Regions from separate parts of the Homo sapiens genome. Here regions 2 and 3 are each linked to region 1. Evidence: promoter capture Hi-C in human tissues and cell types (Jung and others, 2019). All regions are on one chromosome and are shown on one strand. The core of a region is centred on a gene start or on the middle of the fragment in contact, and the rest is flanking DNA. Distances in the headings are between cores, read along the strand shown. Region 1 holds the start of CNBD2 (cyclic nucleotide binding domain containing 2). Region 2 overlaps AAR2 (AAR2 splicing factor). Region 3 overlaps EPB41L1 (erythrocyte membrane protein band 4.1 like 1).

What was found. The method cuts DNA at HindIII sites, captures the fragments that hold promoters and counts their contacts. A contact is called where the count stands out against the background at its distance.
Region 2: a fragment that was not itself captured here is called in contact with the fragment with the promoter of CNBD2 in region 1 in 5 of the 25 tissues and cell types used here (dorsolateral prefrontal cortex, mesenchymal stem cells, mesendoderm cells and 2 more).
Region 3: a fragment that was not itself captured here is called in contact with the fragment with the promoter of CNBD2 in region 1 in 1 of the 25 tissues and cell types used here (IMR-90 fibroblasts).

What each region holds. Positions count from the first base shown.
Region 1 is chr20:35,966,676-35,970,468 of GRCh38, reverse strand. CNBD2 (cyclic nucleotide binding domain containing 2) reads right to left here and starts at 1,879. Exons shown (of 12, transcript NM_001365709.1): 1 at 1,656-1,879. The coding sequence starts at 1,706. It also overlaps the pseudogene LOC124904982. The HindIII fragment of the contact is 12,223 bases long and covers 1-3,793 here.
Region 2 is chr20:36,243,536-36,247,328 of GRCh38, reverse strand. It overlaps AAR2 (AAR2 splicing factor), which reads right to left. Exons shown (of 4, transcript NM_001271874.2): 3 at 2,403-2,632. Among named protein-coding and RNA genes, the nearest start is that of AAR2, 9.0 kb to the right of the region's middle. The HindIII fragment of the contact is 4,125 bases long and covers 1-3,642 here.
Region 3 is chr20:36,224,336-36,228,128 of GRCh38, reverse strand. All of the region lies in intron 21 of EPB41L1 (erythrocyte membrane protein band 4.1 like 1), which reads right to left. The region is part of intron 1 of LOC105372602 (a long non-coding RNA gene); the gene reads left to right. Among named protein-coding and RNA genes, the nearest start is that of AAR2, 10 kb to the left of the region's middle. The HindIII fragment of the contact is 5,078 bases long and covers 1-3,793 here.

The DNA of each region.
Region 1 (3,793 bases), core at 630-3,129:
GCTGAAATTGCGCCACTGCACTCCAGCCTGGGCAACAGAGTGAGACTCTGTCTCAAAAAAATAAATAAAAACAAACAAAGGAAAAAAGAGAATGTTCTTTTTAAAGTGTATCATAAACAAAGTGAGACAACGAACTACAGACTGGAAAAATATACTTACTATGCATATAATCAACAAAGGATTACGATCCAAAATTTATTTTTTGTAATCCTACAAATCAAAAGAAAAATACAAATAACCCAATAGCAAAATGAGCAAAGGTAATTCAAAGGGAAAGTTCAAATTACCTATAAATTGTGAAAATATTGTTTTTATTCATTTGTATTTATATTTACATTGTTTGTAAAGAGGGGGTTTCACTTTGTTGCCCAGGCTGGTTTCCAACTCTGGCTTCAAGTGATCCTTCCACCTCAGCCTCCCAAAGTGCTGGGATTACAGGCATGAGCCTTCATGCCCCAGCCAAATTGTGAAACCATTTTTAACATTGCTAGAAATAATGGAAATGGAAATTAAAGTAATAACATGATACTATTTTGCACTTATCACTGGGAACTGGGAAACATGGTACAACCATGTTGAAGAGCAATTTGGCAACATTATATAAAGTTGAGGATGTGTGTACTTCACAATGGAAGAATTGTATGTACTTTATATGTCCTCTTCAGAGAAACATACATGTACAAGGGGATAGCCATGAGGGTAATCATGGCAACATTGTGTGTAACAGTGAATGGCTGAAAACAAATGTTCATTAGTAGGGATCGAAGGGATCAATACATTATGGTTCAGTCACAGGATTGAACACAGCACTAAGTCTGTGTGTGTCAATGTGGATAAAGCTGAAATGATTTTGAGTGGGAAAAAAGAACTATGATGCTATTTATGGTATCATTTTTAAACAGTGTGCCACATACTATATATTGTTTATGGATACATACACATGTGATAATATATAAAAATATAAACAGGAAGGGTGACACCAACTTCAGGAAAGTGGTTACTATTAAAGAGAAATAAAGGGGCATGGGATGGTAAAGAGCTTTCCCTACACCTGTAATGTTCTATTTCTTAAAAATTAGATATCTATGGAAATATGGGGAAAGGTACTTTATGAATAAAATTAATACTTACTGAGTACAATTTACTATTGTCAGGCATTATCCAAAGCACTATTCTGATATGTAAATCATTTAATCAGTAAATTTATGCAGTAGGTACTAGTATTATCATCTCACTTTACAGAGGAGAAAATAAAGGCACAGCAAACCAAGCAACTTGCCTGGGGTCACATGACTAATAGGTGATAGGGATTTAAACCTAGGTAGTCTGGCTCCAGAGTTCACAAGCTTAACCTATGACTCAATGTTGCTACCCTGACTCTATCCTCCCTCGTTCTCTCTGGATCTCATAATAGCAGGAAGAGTGGGTACAGAACAGGACTCAGTGGCTCTGAGTGTGGCTTATGGCTTGCCCAGTGTGGGGGGCTGGTAGGCTACAGGGCAGGGGTCCCTCCTTTGTGCCATGCTGTGACTCCAAAAGGTACAGGATGGCCACCATTCATCCAAGACCCCTCCTACACCTGCATCGACCTTCCTCAAAACACCTGTCTGTTCAGTCTTCTGCTCTTCCCTCCCAGGGCCCTTGCCCCTCCTCACCAGTTCCTTCTTCAGGAGCTGCCAGGCATAAGTTACCATATGTCTCCTCATGGTTCCTGTGCAGGCAAATGGCACAACTAGCCCCTTTGCCTTTCAAGGGGAGGACTACAAATTTTTCCCCAAAAATCCAGTAATACTAGAAACAAATAGATTTCCTCAGTAACAAGGCAAGAGCTCCACTCCACTCCTCCTACCATACCATCAGCTACTGGAAGCCCTGCTCTGAGAAAAATCATTCTCAGAATCTCCTAAGGTCACAATGAAAGATTCTGGAGGCAGGGGACACAGGGATTGGAATGTGGGAGTCTAACATTTATGGGATACTCACAGGCATTATCTCAGCTAATCCTCACAACCACCCAAACTTTTACTCAACTCCATACATAGGAGACTGGGGCTCAAAGTAGCTAAATGGCTGCCAGAGTCCTGGTGAGACAGGAGAATGGCACAACCCTGCTGACCAAAACAGGATCTAGGACCCCCTAGCTGTCCCCATCCCTCATTAACATAAGACACTCCTACCAGTGCCATGACAGTGTACAAATGTCTTGGCAATGACCAGGAAGTTGCTACCTCTTTCCTAGAAAACTCTAAAAACCCACTCCTTAATTTGCATTAACCTGCCCCTTAATTTGCATTAGCCTGCCCCTTAATTTGCATGTGATTGAAAGTGGGTAGGAATGCGTATACTACACTTGATCTCAGCCAAAAGGCTGAGAAGGGATTAGAGATGAGCATAAATACAGTTGCCAACATCTCATACACTGGGTATCGACTCCGGATTCATTGCCCATGAGTTAGCCCTGCCCCACAAGGAGAAGCACTATTCAATAAAAGATTGCTGTCTAACACCACTGGCTCACCCTTGAATTCCTTCCTTGGGCAAAGCCAAGAACTCTCCTAAGCTAAGTCTCAATTTGGGGGCTCACCTGTCCTGCAAAGATAGGGCTTTTTTGTTTTTTGAGACACTGTCTCACTTTGTTCCCAGGATGGAGTGCAGTGGCCCAATCTCAGCTCACTGCAACCTCTGCCTCCCAAATTCAAGTGATTCTCCTGCCTCAGCCGCCCAAGTAGCTAGGATTACAGGCGTGTGCCACCATGCCCGGCTGATTTTTGTATTTTTAGTAAAGACAGGCTTTCACCACGTTGCCCAGGCTGGTCTCAAGCTCCTGACCTCAAGTGATCCACCCACCTCAGCCTCCCAAAGTGCCGGGATTACAGGCATAAACCACCACTCCTGGCCAGGGCCTTTTTTTTTTTTTTTTTTTTAAGAAAGCAGTGTAGCTAAATGTCAGGTACACTTGCTCTCCATTTGTAGCATCCAATTAACAGAAGCAAGGTCTGGTCCAGCCTGGCCAATGTGGTGAAACCCCATCCCTACTAAAAATACAAAAAAATTAGCCGGGTGAGGTGGTGGGCACCTATAATCCCAGCTACTCGGGAGGCTGAGGTGGGAGGATCACTTGAACCCGGGAGGCAGAGGTTGCAGTCAGCCAAGATTGTGCCACTGCACTCCAGCCTGAACGACAGAGCAAGACTCTGTCTCAAAAAAAAAAAAAAAAAAAAAAAAAAAAGCGGGAGGGGGAATTGGCATAAATGGCATGCAGAGGAGGGAATGAGCAGGTGGGAGTCTCCATGACTCACTTTGGTGCCTTATCTACCGCCTGGTCGAGCTGCCACCATCTTGGGCAGAACTAGGTTGTAAAGTGGCCTTGTCTCGAGATACTCTCCAGGTGGGGCAGAGTTTCCTGGCAGGCATACTTTTGGTTGTAAATTGACTATTGTCTCTCAAGGCAATCTGGTGGGAGAGGTTTCTACTCTGGAGCTTTTAAGTAAGCACACAGATACACTTGCTCTAGGAGTGTCTGGTGAAGGGAAAGCAAAAGGTTATAACTGCATTTCTAATCAGCTAAGTAGGAAGTGGGGAACAGAAGAAAAACACAAAAGAGAAAGAAGAAAAAGATGATTTAAAAAGATAACTCATTCTCTATCTCATAGAAAAATGGGTGTACTTTGTTACAGCGGGAGGCTTCTAGGCTGGGAGTAGGTTCATCCAGCACCTTAGCCCAGGGACCACTCTGAGACTTAGAACTTGGAGGCCCTGGAACGTGGGTGCATAGTACTGTCCCATAAGTCTG
Region 2 (3,793 bases), core at 331-2,830, 280 kb before region 1:
AGAGAGATGGGGTAACTGGTAAGCACGGAGGCTGGTAAACTCCGATGCAGTCTAGGTGAGACCAAAAGGCCGGGGCTAGGGAAATGGTACTAGGGCAGGACTGCCTTCTAAAACACTTACTGCTACCTGCTTACTGCTATTTGGTTAGTTAACTTTCTGTTAACTTTCTCAAAATACAAGAGTCTGCTATCTGGAGTTACTTGGCTAGTTAACTTTCTGTTAACTTTCTCAAATTACAAGAGTCAAGACAATGACTCTGTCTTGCTCACAGCTATATTCCCAGTTCTAGAACAGAGTCTTCTATACAGCAGATGCTCAGCAATTACCTGCTAAATCAATGAACAAATCCCTTGAGGGCAGGAACCCTGGCTAACTCACATGTATATATATTCCTCAACACTTTCAGTAGAATGTTATATATGAAGAATGCTCAAAGACATGTGTTTTTTGTTTTGTTTTGTTTTGTTTTGGCACATGCCCTGGATTTTTCCAAATAATGACATCGAATTTTCTTGGTGAAAAGTTCAAAGACTGAATGTTTCCAACCATCAGCTTTGCACAACCCACCTGGGCATCTAGCAATCCAGCTGGGCACTTTCTGCTTTGTAAATCATTGCTGGCAACAAAGCCTGGCAATTATAGAGCTCAGCTGCTGGTTGTGCTAACAATGGTCTGGACAGCCAGCAACACCGTGGCCCTCCTGTGTCTGTGCGACGCATCAACGTGCATCAGGAGGGAAGCAGCCACTGCCAGAGGCAAGTTAGCAGGCTAATGCCTCCTCACACTGCCTCACAACCCATAACCAGTACCTTTGGGGAAAATTTTCCCCACAGAGGAAGGACAAAGGGGTTTAATTTCTCTGTTATATGAAGAACCAGTAAAAGGACAGTTTTATAGCTCTTCTGAGTGGAACAGACCAGGCTCAAATCATGCGCTTGACTGACTCATTGCCATGGTTTACACAGGTCCTTCAACTGCCAGCTTTAAGTCAGATGCCTGCTCACAGGGACTCATCCAACAGTAGGTTGGCTTTAGAAAAGCGTTCTGTACCTCTGAGAAACAGGACCTCGATGAAGTCTTCACTGATGTCAATCAAGAATCCTTTCTGGGGGATTCACACTGTGTTCACTACACAAGGGCATAAGCACAGGCAGGAAACCAAGACTCAGGCCTGGGTACAAATCCTGACCTCCACCTGCCAGCTGTATGACTTCAAGTAAGTGATTTAACCATTCTCAAGTGTTCCCATTTGTAAAATGGGAATAATACCCCCATCTTACAAGGCTCCAAAGGGATTCAATGAGTGAACAGGGTCTCACTCTGTTGCCCAGGCTGGAGTGCAGTGGCACGATCATAATCATTGCTCACTATAGCCTCAAACTCCTGGGCTAAGTGATCCTCCTGTCTCAGCCTCCCAAGTGGCTAGGACTACAGGTGCACATGACCATACCTGGCCAATTTTTTAATTTTTGGAGAGACGGGGTCTCACTATATTGCCCAAGCTGGTCTTTAATTCCTGGGCTCAAGTGATCCTCCTGCCTTCACCTCCCAAAGTGTTGGGATTACAGTCATGAACCACCACGCCCAGCCCCAATATTTAACGAATGCTCGTCCCTTCTGTTACCCCGAGTGGGATTGGAAGGTTGGTGAAAGGCTGCCTTATATGGAGCAGGCCTCATGGGGGTATTACACACAGGGAGAAGAAAGAAGCTCATGGGAGGGAAAGTATGGAAACTGACAGTGGCAGCTTCTGCCTCTTCTATTCTTGAGAAAGTTACACAATGTGAGTGACAGAGGCTGTCCCAAGTACATAAAGGACTAATCTGTTTGCAAAGGGAGGAAATAGCATAGGATGAAGATTGTAAGTTGTTTGAAGCTTCTTTCCTAATTACCACTCATAATGAAAATTTAATTGCCAAGTTAAAAGCAAATTTCACTTTTTCTGTCATAGAATCTCTGCAGAAACTGGCACATTTTGTTTGAACAGGAAATCAAAGTTATTTTAATGCTTAAATGAGATCTAAGGAGCTGCAGATGTTTCACTGGGAATAACAAACTTCAAAATTCTGCTTTACTGGGTTGTAGCAATTCATGGCTACAGGGAGAAAGAAACGCTGTTTTAAGCTGAGTAAACCAAAGCAGTGGGAGGAATTCAAATCCAAGTACCCCAGTGTTAGGCACTCTGGGGACGAGGTGTAGGGAGAGGGTGGTACAGAGAGAAAATTTCTGGCATAGAGGCACTTACAATTGAGTAAGAGAGAGAAAAGCAGGAAATATCCCAAGACTAGGAAACTGAAATTTAAAAATTTTGGGGTCATGGAAGAATAGCGAGAAACAAAACACATACTGTTGCCTCAATTCTGACCCACATGTGCATCAGCTCAGTCAGAAAGACTGCTCACCTGTAAGGTGCTGGTGAGGAAGTTGTCTTGGGAGACAATGTCTACGAAGAAGTCAGCGGGGATCTCACCAAGCTGGTGGTACAGGATGGAGATGAGGTTGATGTAGAGGGTGTGGTGCTTCATCATGGCTGCTTCTGACCGGCACAGGAGGTTCAGGAGCCGCTTCCAATGCTCAAATGCCTCGTACACATTCCCCAGCAGGAAGCACACAAAAGCAAACTGGAGTTCACCTGAAAGGTGCAGAGAGGAGAAGTGATTCTGAGGGAGAGGAGGACCAGCTGACACTCTCCATCACTATTCACAAGGCCATGAATTCCACTGGACCTCAGCAACAGATGAGCTTTTATCCTTGTCACTCCTGCAGAGCCTGGCAGGAGATTTTGCACCTAACAGGTACTCAATAGATGTCTGCTGAACCGCTATGAATTCAAGCCATGGGAAACCAACCTGTGGCTTTGGATTTCTATAAAATCAGACTGCTAGAGAAGAGGTATTCCCAGTATTTGCCTGGCATTTTAAGTTTACAAAATGTGTTCATGGATATTATGCCAAGTGGATTTCAAACCTGGCTGCCCATCAGAATCACTGAGAGTCTGTTAAAAGTAAAGCTACCCAAGCTTCACCCTCAGAGGTTCTGGTGGAGGAGAGATGATGGGGCCTTCGTATCTGTAGCTCTAACAAGCTCCCCAGGTGATTCTAATGTGGATGGTCTGCTCCAGGGTCAGGAAATACTGCACTATACCATGTAACCCTCAGCCCAACTCCACAAGGCGATCAGGAAGATGGTATTTGCCTCATTTCATAGATAAGGTCAAGGGCTTGCCCAAGGCCACACATCTAATGCTTCACAATGTGGGCAACGGAAAGATAAAACAGATTCTCCATTGGGTGGGAACAGTTCTGGAACCTCCCACAAAAGAAAAATTCATGAGTACTTATTCCAGGGTCAGCCTGCCAGGCAGATTATTTTTGTTTGCTTAACCACAGGGCTCTGTGATTTAATCTCTATGAGCAGCTTGGTGGCTAAGAGCATGGGCTCTGGAGCCAAACTGCCTAGCTTCAAATCTTAGCTCTGCCACTTAGCAGCTGTGTGACCTTGGGCAAGTTACTCAATCTATTAAGGCCTCAATTTCCTTATTTGAGGGTTGTAGCAAAGATTACATGAATGGATATAGTACATGTATAGCATTTAGAATAAGACCTGGCACAAAGTAGCACTCAAAAAATATTATGTTCCCAATTTCTATCAGATGCCCATCTCAAACAGAGACCTGATGATCCAGACACCACTGTCCCTGGGCAAGTAACTGGGTCTCTGGTTACCACAGAATACTGCTCCTCATCACAGGCATTCTCTCTACTTCAAAGGTGGCTGGAAATTTAATGAGGTA
Region 3 (3,793 bases), core at 633-3,132, 260 kb before region 1:
CATGCAGTCGAGTGCTAACGGAATCACAGAAAATGGATCTTTCTTGGCTCATTTGACACATAGGAAAACCGAGGCCCAGAGGCTTCAGGCTTAGTAAGTTGGCAAAACCAAGACTAAAACCCAAGGTTCCTGTTTTGGAACAGGTCAATTTTTTCCCATTAAATTTTGGAAGGTTAGGAAGCTAGGCAAGTGCTGCCCTCTTGCTGGTGGTGTTTGGGAGACAGGTCCTCTCTGAAGGAGGTGGGCCAGTGGGAGAAGATGGAGCAGAAACCAGACGTCTGACCTGCAAGGTTGCAGGGAGAGAAGGGAAAAGGTTCTGTGTGACATGAGTGACTTTCCACGCTCATAGCAAGAACTTCAAGAAGGAAGAACTTTAAGAAGGAAGACAGAGTTAACTGAAGCAGGGACAGATGTTTCTGGAGGATTTGCAGAAGGAACAGAAGATGAAGACCAGTAAGACAAACACCCTCATGGAGACAGGGCCTCAGGCACCAGGCTGGTGGTGGAGAATTACGATCTGACTTTCTCAGTACTCTCATCAACCTCTAAACATGGAAAAACCTCAGAGGGACAAGGAAGCAGGTTCACCTTGCTGAGCCCCTTCTGTAGGCAAGACACAGATCCAGTATATCACAGGTGTTGTTTAGTTATTACAGCAACTCCAATGTATACATTAATGACATTTTGCAGATGAGGAAACTGAGGTCAGAGAGGTTCCTCTGGGCACACAGCTACCAAGGTGTTTCTAGCTCCAAAACCTAGTTGTATCCATCTATTCCTTCCTTCCTTCGTTTCGTTTTTTGTTTTTTGTTTTTTACAGGGTCTTGCTCTATTGCCAGGCTGGAGTGCAGTGGCGCGATCATAGCTCATTGCAGCCTGGACCTCCTGGACTCAAGCAATCCTCCCGCTTCAACTTCCCAAGTAGCTGGGACTACAGGTGCCAGCCACCACACCCAGTTAATCTTTTACATTTTTTATAGAAACGAAGGTCTCATTATGATGGCCAGGCTGGTCTTGAACCCCTGGGCTCAAGTAATCCTCCTGCTTCAGCCTCCCAAAGTGCTGGGATTACAAGTGTGAGCCACTGTGCCTGGCCCCTGGTCAAAATTGAGTAGAAAGAATACTACTCAAAGAATATTACTCAGTAGCAAAATTACTACATCCTAACTGGGCATTGGTTTTGGTTTGGTTTGGTTTGGTTTTTCCTTACAGTAACAGGCTGCACTTTAAGTTTGTGCATCAATTAATGAAGTGGCTGTCCTATAAGTCAGTGTAATCATTATTCTGGGTATGTGGGATGTCTTCGTAAGCCCATAGACACTTCAGAAGTACCAAAGACATCTAAACAATACAGTGTTATGATTTATTCTTCTTGGTTTATTACAGCACAGCACAGTCCCTGCGTGCAGCATTTTGTTAGCCTATTTCAAGTTAATGGTAATAGTAGTCATAATGAGCTTTTATTAAGCACTCGCGATGTGGTAGGCAGTGTGCTAACTACCATGCTGCATGGATGATCTTGGTAGCCCTAGGAGACAGACGTTATGAAAAGTGGGTGTGGTGAAAAGGTCAAGACCATTGGGTTTTGGAGTCTAACAGATTGGGTTTCACTCTCTAATCAATCCATCATGTTCACAGCTTCATGACTGTGAGCAAGCCACTTAACATCTCTGACCCTCAGTTTCCTCATTTGTAAAATGAATGAGCAGGTAACAGTACTTGTGTTGAGTGCACAGCCTGGTGCCTGGCACAGGGTAAGCTTTCCATAAATTATAGCGATTGTTATTACTGTGATGATCATTGCCATTTGGCTGACGAGGAATCATAGGCTGAAAAGTTTAAATGATTTGCTAAAAGGTCACACAGCTAATAAAGGGCAGGGCTTGAGACTCTGCAGGAGTACAGAGCTCTTCCTTGGGGTACCAAGAGGCATCCATCCATTAAGCCAATGTTTCCAAGCACTTTAAAAAGGAGTTTTTGAATTCAGAGGAGACCTCTTCTAGAATTAGTGAGTCTGACTGTATTAAGAGTCAGACTTGGGTTCTACTTGACCATAATTACTGGTAAAGCATGTGGGCAGAAAAGGCAAGGGAGAGAAACTTCTGGCTTGCCAGGGCAACATAAACAAGGTGACCTTTACAGAACAACCCAGAAGAGAGAGAGATGGGGCATGGTGGTGCGTGGGGCAATGGCAGCAAAGAAAGAACTAAAGAGAGGCGAGGAGGAGGGAATGAGACAGCAAAGGGAGCAGTGAGGTGGGCAGATGTGAAAGACTGCATCGCGGCGGGGTGGGCAGGATGTGGAGGCCAGGATGAGGGCTCTGAATGGCTAGGGAAATGGGAAGGCGGGAGCCTGGGGGCCTGGTTCTGAATGCCCTGGGAAAGATGAGGAGGCGTGAGAGAGGGAATGGAGAAGAGATGAGAAAAGCACAACAGATACCCCAGGAAAGCAAATAGCCAGAGGACTGTAATTGGAAGGGGGCTCGCTCCACCTCTTCATTTTGCAAGTGAGGAAACCGAGTCCTCAAGCGGGAAGAAACGGACCTACGGTCACACACCAGTCAGTGGAACAGCTTTAGAGCCAGGTCCCTGGATTCCCAATACAGAGTTCTTTGCATCAATGCTACTATACCTGGCTGCACGCGGACTCCCTAAGGACCAAGGCAGAAATGAAGATTCCCAGGCAATACAGGTCCCAGGTCCCAGTCCAGTCTTTCTAAATCAGACTTTATGGAGAGGGTTCTCCAGTGCCTGTATTTTAAACAGGCTTCCCCAGGTGATACACCCAGCTCAGCAAGTGGCCTACACTCTACCACTCTGAGATTTGGGAGGAATAAAGGAAGAATGATTGAAAAACTGAGGGGATAGGAATGACAATCACTTGTATGAAGGTCTGAGGAAGCCTGGGAGGTAGGCTCCGCCCATGGCCAACCTACACTTCTAGACCAGTGCTGTCCAATAGAAATAGAATGTGAACTACATATGCAATTTAAAATTTTCCTAGATAGGTCCAGGTGCAGTGGCTCACACCTGTAATCCTAGCACTTTGGGAGGCCGAGTCGGGCAGATCACTTGAGGTCAGGAGTTTGAGGCCAGCATGGCAAATATGGTGAAACCCCGTCTCTACTAAAAATACAAAAATTAGTTGGGTGTGGTAGCACACGCCTGTAGTCTCAGCTACTTGGGAGGCTGAGGCACGAGAATCACTTGAATCCGGGAGGTGGAGGCTGGAGTAAGCCAAGATCGTGCCACTGCACTCCAGCCTGGGTGACAGAGTGAGACTCCGTCTCAAAAAAAAAAATTTTTTTCCTAGATAATAGATTTTCTAGATAACACTTCCTAAATTTTCTATATATTTCTATTTTTCTAAAAATTTCTAGATAAATAGAAAATTTTAATTTCACAATTAAATTTCTCAATTTTAGTTTCCATTAAAAAGTTTAAAAAGAAACAGGTGAAATTAATTTAATTTTATTTTATTTTTGAGACGGAGTCTCGCTCTGTTGCCCAGGCTGAAGTGCAATAGTGCCATCTCAGCTCACTGCAACCTCCGCCTCCTAGGTTAAGGCAAATCTCCTGCCTCAGCCTCCCTAGTAGCTGGGACTACAGGCACCCACCAACCCCCACTCCTAATTTTGTATTTTAGTAGAGACAGGGTTTCACCACGTTGGTCAGGCTGATCTCAAACTCCTGACCTCAGGTGATCCACTTGCTTTGGCCTCCTAAAGTGCTGAGATTACAGGCATAAGCCACCGTGCCTGGCCAGATGAAGTTAATTTTAATAGTACATTTTA